Linked DNA regions of Homo sapiens: all the other regions are linked to region 3. The links are contacts of gene promoters, found by promoter capture Hi-C in human tissues and cell types (Jung and others, 2019). All regions are on one chromosome and are shown on one strand. The core of a region is centred on a gene start or on the middle of the fragment in contact, and the rest is flanking DNA. Distances in the headings are between cores, read along the strand shown.

What was found. The method cuts DNA at HindIII sites, captures the fragments that hold promoters and counts their contacts. A contact is called where the count stands out against the background at its distance.
Region 1: a contact is called between a fragment that was not itself captured here and the fragment with the promoter of NRDE2 in region 3, in 1 of the 25 tissues and cell types used here (dorsolateral prefrontal cortex).
Region 2: a contact is called between a fragment that was not itself captured here and the fragment with the promoter of NRDE2 in region 3, in 4 of the 25 tissues and cell types used here (dorsolateral prefrontal cortex, hippocampus, mesenchymal stem cells and 1 more).
Region 4: a fragment that was not itself captured here is called in contact with the fragment with the promoter of NRDE2 in region 3 in 2 of the 25 tissues and cell types used here (dorsolateral prefrontal cortex and hippocampus).

What each region holds. Positions count from the first base shown.
Region 1 is chr14:90,841,706-90,844,735 of GRCh38, forward strand. No RefSeq gene overlaps it. Among named protein-coding and RNA genes, the nearest start is that of LINC02321, 15 kb to the left of the region's middle. The HindIII fragment of the contact is 3,190 bases long and covers 85-3,030 here.
Region 2 is chr14:90,666,715-90,669,577 of GRCh38, forward strand. All of the region lies in intron 9 of TTC7B (tetratricopeptide repeat domain 7B), which reads right to left. Among named protein-coding and RNA genes, the nearest start is that of TTC7B-AS1, 26 kb to the left of the region's middle. The HindIII fragment of the contact is 4,615 bases long and covers 1-2,863 here.
Region 3 is chr14:90,330,490-90,333,400 of GRCh38, forward strand. NRDE2 (NRDE-2, necessary for RNA interference, domain containing) reads right to left here and starts at 1,452. Exons shown (of 14, transcript NM_017970.4): 1 at 1,352-1,452. The coding sequence starts at 1,415. RefSeq lists an enhancer at 1,206-1,385 and a silencer at 1,536-1,685. The HindIII fragment of the contact is 6,388 bases long and covers 1-2,911 here.
Region 4 is chr14:90,648,413-90,651,471 of GRCh38, forward strand. All of the region lies in intron 13 of TTC7B (tetratricopeptide repeat domain 7B), which reads right to left. It overlaps TTC7B-AS1 (TTC7B antisense RNA 1), which reads left to right. Exons shown (of 5, transcript NR_110134.1): 5 at 1-479. Among named protein-coding and RNA genes, the nearest start is that of TTC7B-AS1, 7.3 kb to the left of the region's middle. The HindIII fragment of the contact is 3,294 bases long and covers 71-3,059 here.

The DNA of each region.
Region 1 (3,030 bases), core at 430-2,929, 510 kb after region 3:
GCCTTGGCCTCCCAAAGTGCTGGGATTACAGGCATGAGCCACCACACCCAGCCTATGCTGTCCTTTAAAAAATCATTATGAAATATTTCATACATGCAAAGGGCATAAGGATACTATCATGAACACCTGCATGCTACCACTATGCTGAACAAATCAAGCATTAGAAATGCAGTTGGTGGGCCGGGCACGGGGGCTCACGCCTGTAATCCCAGCACTTTGGGAGGCTGAGATGGGCGGATCACAAGGTCAGGAGTTCGAGACCAGCGTGGCCAACATGGTGAAACCCCATCTCTACTAAAAATAGAAAAATTAGCTGGGCATGGTGGCACACATGTGTAATCCCACCTGCTTGGGAGGCTGAGGCAGGAGAATCGCTTGAAACCAGGAGGCGGAGGTTGCAGTGAGCTGAGATGGCACCACTGCACTCCAGCCTGGGCAACAGAGTGAGACTGCGTCTCAAAAAAAAAAAGAAAAGAAAAGAAATGCAGTTGGCGCTCCTGTGTGAATCCCTGTTTAAAGAGCCTCACACTGTTAACTGGAGCTTTGCAGAACTTGCTCATATGCTTAGGGTCAACAGCAATTCAAGGTGGGCCAAGATTATACATGGCTTCCATGTCTGATCAGATAAGACACCGGAGAGTTGCTAGGTTTTTCAAATTGCTAGCAATTACTATCCCTATCACCATGCTTTTTTTAAATTTAATTTAATTTAATTTTTTTTTTTGAGACAGAGTCTCGCTCTGTTGCCCAGGCTGGAGAGCAGTGGCGTGGTCTTGGCTCACTGCAAACTCCACCTCCTGGCTTCACGCCATTCTCCTGCCTCAGCCTCCCGAGTAGCTGGGACTACAGGTGCCCGCCACCACACCCGGCTAATTTTTTTGTATTTTTAGTAGAGACGGGGTTTCACCATGTTAGCCAGGATAGTCTTGATCTCCTGACCTCGTGATCCACCCATCTCGGCCTCCCAAAGTGCTGGGATTACAGGCGTGAGCCACCGCACCCAGCATCACCATGCTTTTCTGCATCCAAAATAGGTCACCTGCAGCAACGTGGGAAGCCTTGTACATTGAGCTGAGGATTTTTTCAGTCTACTGCACCTCCTTCTCGTCCTAATAATAACCACACTGTAGAGGTGGGGGGAGCTCTTGAGGCCCAAATTGTGAAGTACTGCCCAGGCCTGCGCCTTCCCCTCTGCCCACATCTCATGCAGGGCCACCATGCCTGACGTCTGCAGCACATGCTGACGCTTCCTGTTCTAGGCTGCCTTTCAAAGCTTTGTTGCGTACAACTGGCTTTACACCCTCCCACAGTCTTGGCAGCCTATTAATAACTACTATGCTTTTGGAGCATCCCAACTCTATAGACACTTTCTTTAGACTCTACAGTATAAAGAATTACCCCAGAGAATGTTCCAGTCTTCTGCAGCCTTAGGAACTGTTACAGAGAAAAACTGACTGAAGGATAACATTACCCCTGTTTTACAGATAAGGACACTGAGGACCAGAGAGGTCTGATGCTCTAATGATTGGCACTCAGGCAGCACTGAGAGGTGGGAGCAGACCTGCTGAGCAGGTGGGACTTTGAGGCAGAGGCTTCCCCTGGGTCTTCCTTCCACCACAGGCTGCTTCTGGCTTCTGGCCAGGCTGGTCTATCTACTATTTTGGTTGTTTTTTAGCCACTTGTACTTGAACCAATGGAGGGACCCAGGGTGACCTTAATCTGTTTCCTGTGAGTTTTTCTAATTTTAATTTTTTTTTTTTTGAGACGGAGTCTTGATCTATTACGTAGGCTGGAGTGCAGTGGCATGATCTCAGCTCACTGCAACCTCCGCCTCCCAGGTTGAAGCAAGTCTCCTGCCTCAGCCTCCTGAGTAGGTGGGATTACAGGTGTCCACCACCACACCCGGCTAATTTTTGTATTTTTAATAGAGACGGGGTTTCACTATGTTGGCCAGGCTGGTCTCAAATTCCTGACCTCAGGCGATCCGCTCGCCTTGGCCTCCTAAAGTGCTGGGGTTACAGGTGTGAGCCACCGCGCCTGACCTTAATTTTTTTTTTTTGAGACAGGGTCTCACTTTGTCGCCCAGGCTGGAGTGCAGTCACGTGTTCTCAGCTCACTGCAACCTCCACCTCCCGGGTTCAAGCGAATCTCCTGCCTCAGCCTCCTGAGCAGCTGGGATTACAGGTACCCGCCACAACACCTGGCTAATTTTTGTATTTTTAGTAGAGACGGGGTTTCACCATATTGGTCAGGCTGGTTTCGAGCTCCTGACCTCAAGTGATCTGCCCATCTTGGCCTCCCAAAGTGCTGGGATTACAGGCATGAGCCACTGCACCTGGTCTAATTTTTGATTTTTTTTTTAAGAGATGGGGTCTCTCTCTGTCACCTGGGCTGGAGTGCAGTGGTGTGATCATAGCTCACTGCAGTCTCAACCTCCTGGATTCAACAGATCCTCCACATTCAGCCTCCCGAGTAGCTGGGATTACAGGTGTGTGCCACCACACCCAGCCACTTGTGAGCTCTTGATGCACTCATCAGCACCAGTTAGAGCCTCAAACAGCCACAAAGACACAAACTGGGAAGGACTGACTGGTGGTTTGGCTCAGCTGTACCATCTGGAATGATAATACAAGTCGGATAGAATCAACACTGATATTTACTAAAACACCCAGGGGTGCTTTATATACATTATTTTTACAAAAATGAGATTCTTGACTCAATCTGAGTATGTGGCTCACCATCCTTTGCCACATCCTGCAGAGAAAGTCCACATGCAGATGGGGTAGCAGCCAGCCAGAGCTATCCCTGTGGTGATCAGTGGTCCAAGGCTAGCCCCTCCCCCCACACCTCTACACGGTAGCTTAGTCCACTGCATTTGATGGCCTCTGGTTTTACCCTGGGGATTACTTCTTCTCTGTCTTATAAATAGCCAAACATTTGCCCTGGTTAGCTGGTAATCCGTGGGGCTGACTCTGAGATGTCAGCATTACACCCACCTGAGTTTAAGCTCAGCACAGGACACAACACAGC
Region 2 (2,863 bases), core at 343-2,842, 340 kb after region 3:
AACAGCAATACTGCTCCAAGCAGGGAAGTCTCAGAGTTTTATTGCTTTGGCAAACACTTAAAGGATATCATTGCCTCTGGCCACAGTGAGAGGAGTAGAGTGGGTTGTTTTCAAAGGTCACAGATTTTATTATAGAATTTGAATGCTGGATGCGGTTTTCTGGCATGCTCTCCTCTCAACTCTACGAATCAAGTAGACCAAGCTTGCACATTGAGTAAGGGGTCTCCGGGGTCCTACTCAAATACTACTCCATCTGCTGCTTTGCCAATGTAGCTGTTCCTTGCAAAATGCAGTGAATTCACAAAATGGGCATTCCATTCCTCCTGTCTCCTCAATTGCCTCTCACCTTTTGGTCTTTTCAGTCTCTCTTCCCTGGCTTGGGGCACTGGGTTTTAACCCTTCAACCATGGCTGCCACTTAGCCCATGCCAGGACTAAGGGAGGAAGTAAGGAGTTGAGAGTGCGGCAGCCTGGGACATACCACGTACAAAATAGTTGCATGGTAAATGCTTGAATGAAGGCTGGACAGAGAATTGGGATCCATTCTTTTGGAGATCCTTTAAGGAGGGCCACAGCAAACATGGAGGCAGGGAGGAGTACTGGAGTTGCCAAGACTGGAGACAACGACATAGCAGAAAGGACAGAAGCAGGGTCGCTGAGCTATGGCCTGAGGGCCCATTATGACCTACTGCTTGCTTTTAGAGCCCAAAAGTTAAGAATTGCGTTTATAGCTGAACATACACCATCAATTTGGTGAGAGGGGGTATTAACTTTAAACCCAAATTAAGCAAAATGTTATCCCCTACCCCCGCAAACAACCCCATTCTTCTCATGCATGGATCTATATTACAAAAGTTGTACTCATTATATTTTGAGTTTCATTGATTAAAATTTTGCAGAAATTTGTTTTCTCTCGTTATACCTACATGCTATTCTTGGTTTTGTCTCTTAGCCTTTGAAGCCTAAAATATTTAGCATCTGACGCTTTAATTTGCTGACCCTTGTTCTAAAGGAACTGGGGGCACTTTAGGCTGAAGGAAAAAAGACAATATGACAACTGTCTTCAAAATTTGGTGGACTCAATAGGGAGAAGGAGCCATCCATTACCAGGGCATCTTTACTATGGAACATTCTCCCACCTGTGAAAAGAGGCAGATCTAGACACATGAATCTGGTACAATCTTCAGGATAGATCACCAGCTGGATAAAACATAGATTTTATGTCCTGTGGCATGCTACTTTTGCACTGAAGGGGAACACACACATATGCATAGTGGCCTGTGGATTCATAGTCAGTCTTTAGAAGAATACACAAGTAACTTCTTCTTCATGTTTCCCCTTGGCTCTGTTGTAATACTTCCCTTGTGCAAATATTACCTGCTCAAAATAGATAATAAGACCAACCAAAAAAAAAAAAAAAATTGGTAGACTGTCAGTGAGGTGGGGCTGGACTTGCCCTACTGCTCCAAAAAGACAGAATAGGTAGAAATTACAAGGAAACTCATTTTAGATCAATCCTTTCTAATAACCAAAGAGGAATCGAACAATATATATTACCCATCAATTGCTGTGCTAGCTACATTATAGCCATTATCTTATTGAGCTTCCTAACAGTCTCTGAGGTAGGAGCTCAGAGTAGCCAAGTATATTTCTCAAAGTCTCACAGCTAGGAAAGGGCAGAGCCAGAATTTGAACACAGATCTCCCTGACTCCAGGGCTGAATTTTTTTTACTGTACAATGGGTACTTCCCTATATAAGGGTCAAGGATCATCTGCCAGAGTTATTATTTCATACAAAGGAGATTTTTACATTAGAAAGCAGATTATTAATGCCACCAATAACAATAGTAACATGCACTTCTTGCAGTAACATACATTATCTCTTTAATCATCACAATAACATTCCAAGGTAGATCTTATTATTATCTATGTTTTCCATATAAGGGGACAGGTTCAGCGAGGTAATGGAATCTGTTCAAGTTCATATTCAGCATGTAAAGTAGCAGAACTGAGATTATCACACAGGTCTGATGTTAAACTATGAGGCATTGTTGAGACGGCAATGTCATCCAAAGTGATCTATAAATTCAATGCATCCCTATCAAAATTTCAACTTTTTTTTTTTTTTTTTTTTTTTTTTTGCAGTAATGGAAAAGCCAATCCTCAAACTCATATGGAATTGTAAGGGATCCAGAAACAAACTGGAAAAAGAACAAAGTTAAAGGACTCATACTTTCTGATTTCAAAGCTTACTACTAAGCTACAGAAATTAAAATAGTATGGTATTACATAAAGATACATATACAGACCAAAGGAACAGAATTAAGATTCCAGGAAAAAATTCATAAATTTATGGCCAATTGGTTTTTGATAAGGGTGCCAAGTCCATTGAATAGGGCAAAGAATAGTTTTTTCAACAAATGGTGCTAGGACAACTGGATTTCCACATGCAAAAGAATGGAGTTGGACTCCTACCTCACACCATATACAAAAAAACTATAAATGGACAAACAGCTCAAATATAAGAGCAAAATTGTAAAATCCTTAGAGGAAAACAAAGAATTAAACCTTCATGACCTTGGATTTGGCAATGGATTCTTAGTTATGACACCAAAGGCATAAGCAACAAAATAAAAAATAGATACACTGGACTTAATCAAGATTTAAAACTTTTGCACATCAAAAGACATTTCAAGAAAGTGAAGCTGGGCATGGTAGCTCATGCCTGTAATCCTAGCACTTTAGGAAGCCAAGACGGGAGGATCACTTGAGGCCAAGAGTCTGAGACCAGCCCAAGCTGATTTCTACAGTCTCGTCTCTACAAAAAAAAAAAAAAGCAGGTGTGGTATCTCTAAAAATATAGC
Region 3 (2,911 bases), core at 202-2,701:
ACAATTTTACACAAGAAATTACTCACAATTATGAGAAATAGGACAAGCGCAGTGGCTCATGCCTGTAATCCTAGAACTTTGGGAGGCTCAGATAGAGAATCGCTTGAGCTCAGGAGTTCGAGACCAGCCTGGTCAACACAGTGAGACCTCGTCTCTACTAAATATTAAAAAAAATTAGCCAGGCCTGGTGGTGCACACCAGTAGTTCCAGCTATTCATGAGGCTGAGGCAGGAAGTTAAGCCCAGGAGTCTGAGGCGGCAGTGAGTTATGACAGTGCCACTGTACTCCAGCCTGGGCAACAGAGTGAGACCCTGTCTCAAAAAAAAAAAAAAAAATTAGGAGAAACGTTACAGAAAGTGTAGGAACTATATTAGAGGATATAACAGACAGGTAAGACTCAATTGCGCCCTGTCACATATGGCACATAATTTAGAATTACTTTTTTTTCTTTTTTTTTTAGAGACAAGGTCCCCCCACCCCAGGGCAGGATGCAGCGGCACGATCATGGCTCACTGCGGCCTCAAACTTCTGGGCTCAAGCAATCCTCCTACCTCAGCCTCCTGAGGAGCTGATACTATAGGTGTGCACCACCACGCCTGGCTTTTTTTTTAAGAGACAGGAGTCTCGCTATGTTGATCATGATGGTCATGAACTCCCGGGCTCAAACTATCCTTCCACCTACAGGTGTGGGCCACTGCTCCTGGCCAGGATTAATTACTTCTTAAATGAACTATGTACCCCAATTTTGAACAATGCAGCTCTGCTGGAAATGTCTGGGACTTAAGTAAAATGTGTAAAGCCATAACCTGATACACACTAGGCCCTCAAGAATAAATGTTAGTTATTTTCACTGGGTGCTGTGCCCCTCCAGAGAGAAACTGATTAGGTTTTGGATACTAATCCCCTAGCTCTAGGCCGCTAAGTAATACCAATCTAATAAGCATTTCAGAAATAAGTATAACAGGAAAGGAAGTAATATGTAATAAAAACATTCTGCATTTGCATCAAGGGTTTCCTCGAGATGTCGAGTATCATTATTCCCAATTTAAAGATGAAGTAACTGAGGCTCGAAAAGAAGAACAGGACCTAACAACATCGTACAGAAGTCCCAGCTCCAGGGCATCTGCTGGTCTTTCTCCACCCCTCCATAACTCTACAACCTTGGTCCAGAACAGGCCTCTGGGCCCCAGACCTCGGAGGGATTGAGCCTTTCCCAGAAGGCTTTGCAGCGCCGCGGAGAACTCTGGGATACAAATGGATACACAAATCCAAAGCAAAAGTCTAGACCTGGGCCCGAGAAACAGCCTCTTAAGCCCCCCAGGTGCCTTCTTCGGCTCGTTTGTGTGCTTACCTTTCCTGGAGCTCCCGCCATCGGGAGCCTCACTAAGCCCCGCAAAGGCTGGGAACAGCGCCATGACCACAGGCCGTACCTCCGTTCTTCTCTATAGGGATGGCGCCGGCGAGCGAGCGCCGGTCTGAGGACCCCTGCCGTCGCGGTGCACTCTGGGAAATGTGGTTTTCGCGGCGCTCTCTGGGGCTTGACCCCGAAGCGGGAGGGGCGGGGCCCAGAGAGGAGGGTCGTCAAGGGACTGGGGCGCGGCGGGGCAGGGAGAGGCAGGGCAAAGCAGGGTGGGGCGGGGCCAAGGGGGGCGGAGCGAGGAGTGACGGGTTCCTAGTGGTTGGGACCCTGTGAGAACCGGAACTGCGAAAACCGGAGAAGGGAATTGTTGACCGCGAAAGGGACTAAGGAAATTGGGATTCCAGTTCGACCCCTAAATTCACACCATCCTTGCTAACTGGGTCAACTTAAACGCTCTAAGCATTACTTTCCTTATCTGCAAAATATTGAGAAGATTAAATGAACATATTTATAAAGGGCCTAGCATTGAGTCCGGCCCATGAAAAGCACTTAATATGTGTTAGCTATTATGTGAATTACGACTGCAAGTTCGGCTCAAAGTCATGTGAGATATCCGAACTTCAATCAGGTTACCATATTAAATACCCCAGAACAAGGAAAAATGGAAAGTCCCATCAAGTTCAAGGGTCTTTGATAGTTAGGAAATACCTGTCTGTGAAGCATTCTTGACCCCGGTTCCTCCCACCCAAAATCTAATCACACTTGCTACCAGAAATATAGAGAGTAAAGGAACAACTTAGAAGACTTTGTACTACCAAGAAACAATTAGCCAAATCTAGAATATGGGAAATTATAGAAAACAACCGTGCTTCCTTAACATATCAAGGGCTTTAAGAGGGCAGGAGATTGTAATAGATACGAAGATCTTACAGACACATCAAGCAAATACAACATATTTGTGGCCTCATTATAATTCTGATTGGACAAACTGTAAAAAGACCTTTTTAAGATAGATGGAGAAATAAGAAGGTAGGCAGAGTACAAGCAATTCACAAGTAATTCTTGTGAATTCTGTTAGATGTACTAAAGTACTTATGTCACTGAGGTGACCCTTATTTATTTATTTTGAGACAAGGTCTCCTTCTGCCACCCAGGCTGGAGTGTAGTGGTACGATCTCTGCTCACTGCAGCTTCGAACTCCTCGATTCAAGCAATCCCCTCACCTCAGCCTCCCAAGTGGCTGGAACCACAGGCATACACCACCATGTCTGGCTTAATTTTTTTTTTTTTAATAGAGACAGGGTTTCACCATGTTGCCCAGGCTGGTCTCGAACTCCTGGGCTCAAGCGATCTGCCCCCCTCTGCCTCCCAAAGTGCTGGGTGCCTGTGCCTGAGCACCCCCCAACCCAGCCTGAGATTACTTTTTAAAGTTCTTATATATTAGAGATATATACTGAAATATTTGCAAGTGAAAATAGATAGGTAAATGAAGATATATTTATTGGGATCCTAGGGAGTTAAAGATCTTTAGTTAGGAAATACATTATAAAC
Region 4 (3,059 bases), core at 468-2,967, 320 kb after region 3:
TGATCACTGCTCATTGCAGCCTCAACCTCCCAGGGCCCAAGCGATCCTCCCATCTTAGCCTCCCAAGGTGCTGGGACCACAGGCGTGCTCCCCACGCCCAGCTAATTTATAGAATTTTTTGTAGACCCGGGGTTTCAACATGCTATCCAGGCTAGTCTGGAACTACTAGGCTCAAGTGATCCTCCCACTTTGGCATCCCAAAACCCTGGGATTACAGGCATAAGCCACCACGCCCAGCTACTAAATGGCTTATTTCTAAGGTCCACTCAGTATATAGCAGCTTTTATAATTTTACAAATATTGGCTTTCCATGAATTTGTACATCAAAGAATATTTTTCTTTGGTGTTTATAAAAGTGAGATTGAAAAATCATGGTTTCTCTCATAATTATTCAGGAAAAATAATACACAATTATGAAGAAATTTTTAGATTTATTTTATCTTCTTTCACAAATAATAAATTTACAGAACCCTCAAAAAGAACTTCTTAGAATTATAATTTTCTCAGTTCAATTCATATTCTTCACGAATAAATCAAGTCATGGTTGCCTCTATGCAATACCAACCAACTGAAAAGCTGGCAATGATCTGTTGAGTTGAGGGTGTACATAAAGATAGTTCTGGCTAAAGGCCCCATGCTGGCCTCATCAAATGATTTTTCTCTGTTAACCACAGCACCGTGAAAGGAACAAACCAGAAGTGCTAGAAATCTTGGTATTTCTGGAGTGCATTAGGGCAACATCTGAAGGATTTCCAACTTGGCTAATGATGCATATTCAACTGCCAAATTTCTAATGAGGCACAACTGAAACATATACATTTTAAAAACCTTATTTCTACAACTTGGCTAATGAATTCAACTGACCACTTCACCCTCTGAAGGAAATAAGGCAAATGCCAAACAAAACAAGAAAAAGCTCCCTGTGTTGATCTCAAGTAGATGCTAAAATACTTGCTTCCCGTGGAGCAACTTCAGCAGCTAAGCTTCCTGTGGGAAAGCCCCTTTGGTATGCCACAGGCAACTCGCCGGACAGAAATCCTCAGGCCAGGCAGATGAGAGAGAGGACATTAGTGATCAGAAAAATTGCAAGCCTTCTGAACTCTGTAAATGAATCTAAAGCAGCCTCATAAACTCCGTGCCCATAAACTGAACACCTGGCTAGACTGCTCAGAAATACCTAAAAGACCTAAAAATGTCACCACAAGGATGCTCACAAAATGCTTCCCTTATCAAAGCACCTCCACATAATTAATTCAGTTTCTCTCCCATGAAGAAGAACCCACTCATCCTTTTATCCACTTACCCACCCATCCACCCAGCCAACCACCCACCCATCCACCTATCCATCCATCCACCATCCAACCATCCACCTACCCATCCATCCACCATCCACCCATCCACATTATGCAATATCTATAATGTGATGCCAGGCCCTATGCTAACTTCTGGGGAGCATGGAGATGAATCATGCTAGTGCCTTTCCTTGATGAGCTCCCACCCCCGCCCCAGAGGGAGAGACCCAGAATGACCATCATCATCGTGCAGTGGGAGCAGTGCCCAGAGATAGGCATGCTGGGCTGCTACTGGAAAGCATCGGATGGGCTTCCCAGATCACCTGGCTAGAACCCAAGGATGTTGTGGCATCTAACCCAGGGCTCTCTTAGATTCCATTTCCAACATTCTCTAGAGCTGAACCAAGAATATAGAGAAGGCTGATCAATGCTGACCCTAGTCCATAAGACACATATCTTGTAACAATAGTAACTACAATTTGTGAAGTTATCGACTATTACGCTTCTTGTCCAAGAACAGCCAGCAAATGAGAGAAAGCCAGAACCTTGCTGCCTTGTTTAGCCAATTCTCCTTGAATTTCCCTTCAGTCCTGATTACAGGGGCCATGGGATTCGTGCATTAAGTTTTTTAAAAAGTGCAAACCCTGGTTAAATCTATTGCTCAGGAATCTCTCGTTAGTTACTCACACAGGGTGACCAACTTGTCCTGGTTTGTCCAGGATGTTCCTGATTTTAGCACTGCAAGTCCCATGTTCTGGGAAAACGCTCAGTCCTCAAGAGATTGGGATGGCTGATCACCCTATATGCACACATCATACCACACTTAAACTCAAGCTAGGACAGAAAGGGGAAAGCAAAGCAAGATCGTGTACCCTGTGCCACAATGAGTGATAAACAAACACCACCATGCCACCCCTGCCTCCTGGAGCACCAGGCTTTATGCATACTGTGGGCCATGCAATGAAAGGTGCTCTCAACTGTTTTCAGGATGGCTTTTCTCAGTAGGATGTGAGAGCCTGCAGAAGAAGCAAGTCATATCAATTCAGCATCTTCAGAAGCTTTGCAAACAATATTATGTTCTTCTTCACTATACTTTAGTACAGGGCAAATGAATTGGTTCAGCTGCCTGGGTTGAGCTTATGAGTGTAGGAACAGGTGAGGGTCTCACATTCAGATGCAGCCACCCAACCTGGATGTCTTCAAAAATCACCTCTTTGGATCCACTAGAGAACAAATATGTCTGAATTCTGGCAGTCATAATTAAGAGTTAACTTTCTTGTGCTATATCTGCAACCCCATCCCTTCCTGAATTGTGTTTTCTTTTTAAACAAAAAATGCAAAACATTAGTATAAACAGAATTGTGGGGAGAATATTTAAAACAAATAGTAGAGAAAGTACTTCTCATCAAAGTAGTTTTAAATTATCCATTTACATTTAAGAAGTAATACAAATCATTTTCACTTACTTAAAATCTTTCCCTTAAAGATTTTTGTTAGGACTGCAATTCACTAGAATAGTCCTAGTTAATGTGTACTTGAAATAAAATGAAAAACATTCTATATTTCACACAAATTCTAATTTAGGTTAGCCTTCTGCAATATCATCAGTTAGGTTAGCGGGATTTTATTACTCTTTATTCCCATATGAACTAATATTTTAAAAATCTCTTCGAATTTAAACTTAAGCAAAAGATGAACAAAAAAGAATTCAGGCCAATGGAGCAGCTGTTATATAACATGAAGTTATACTGGCAGCTCAAGGCAGAC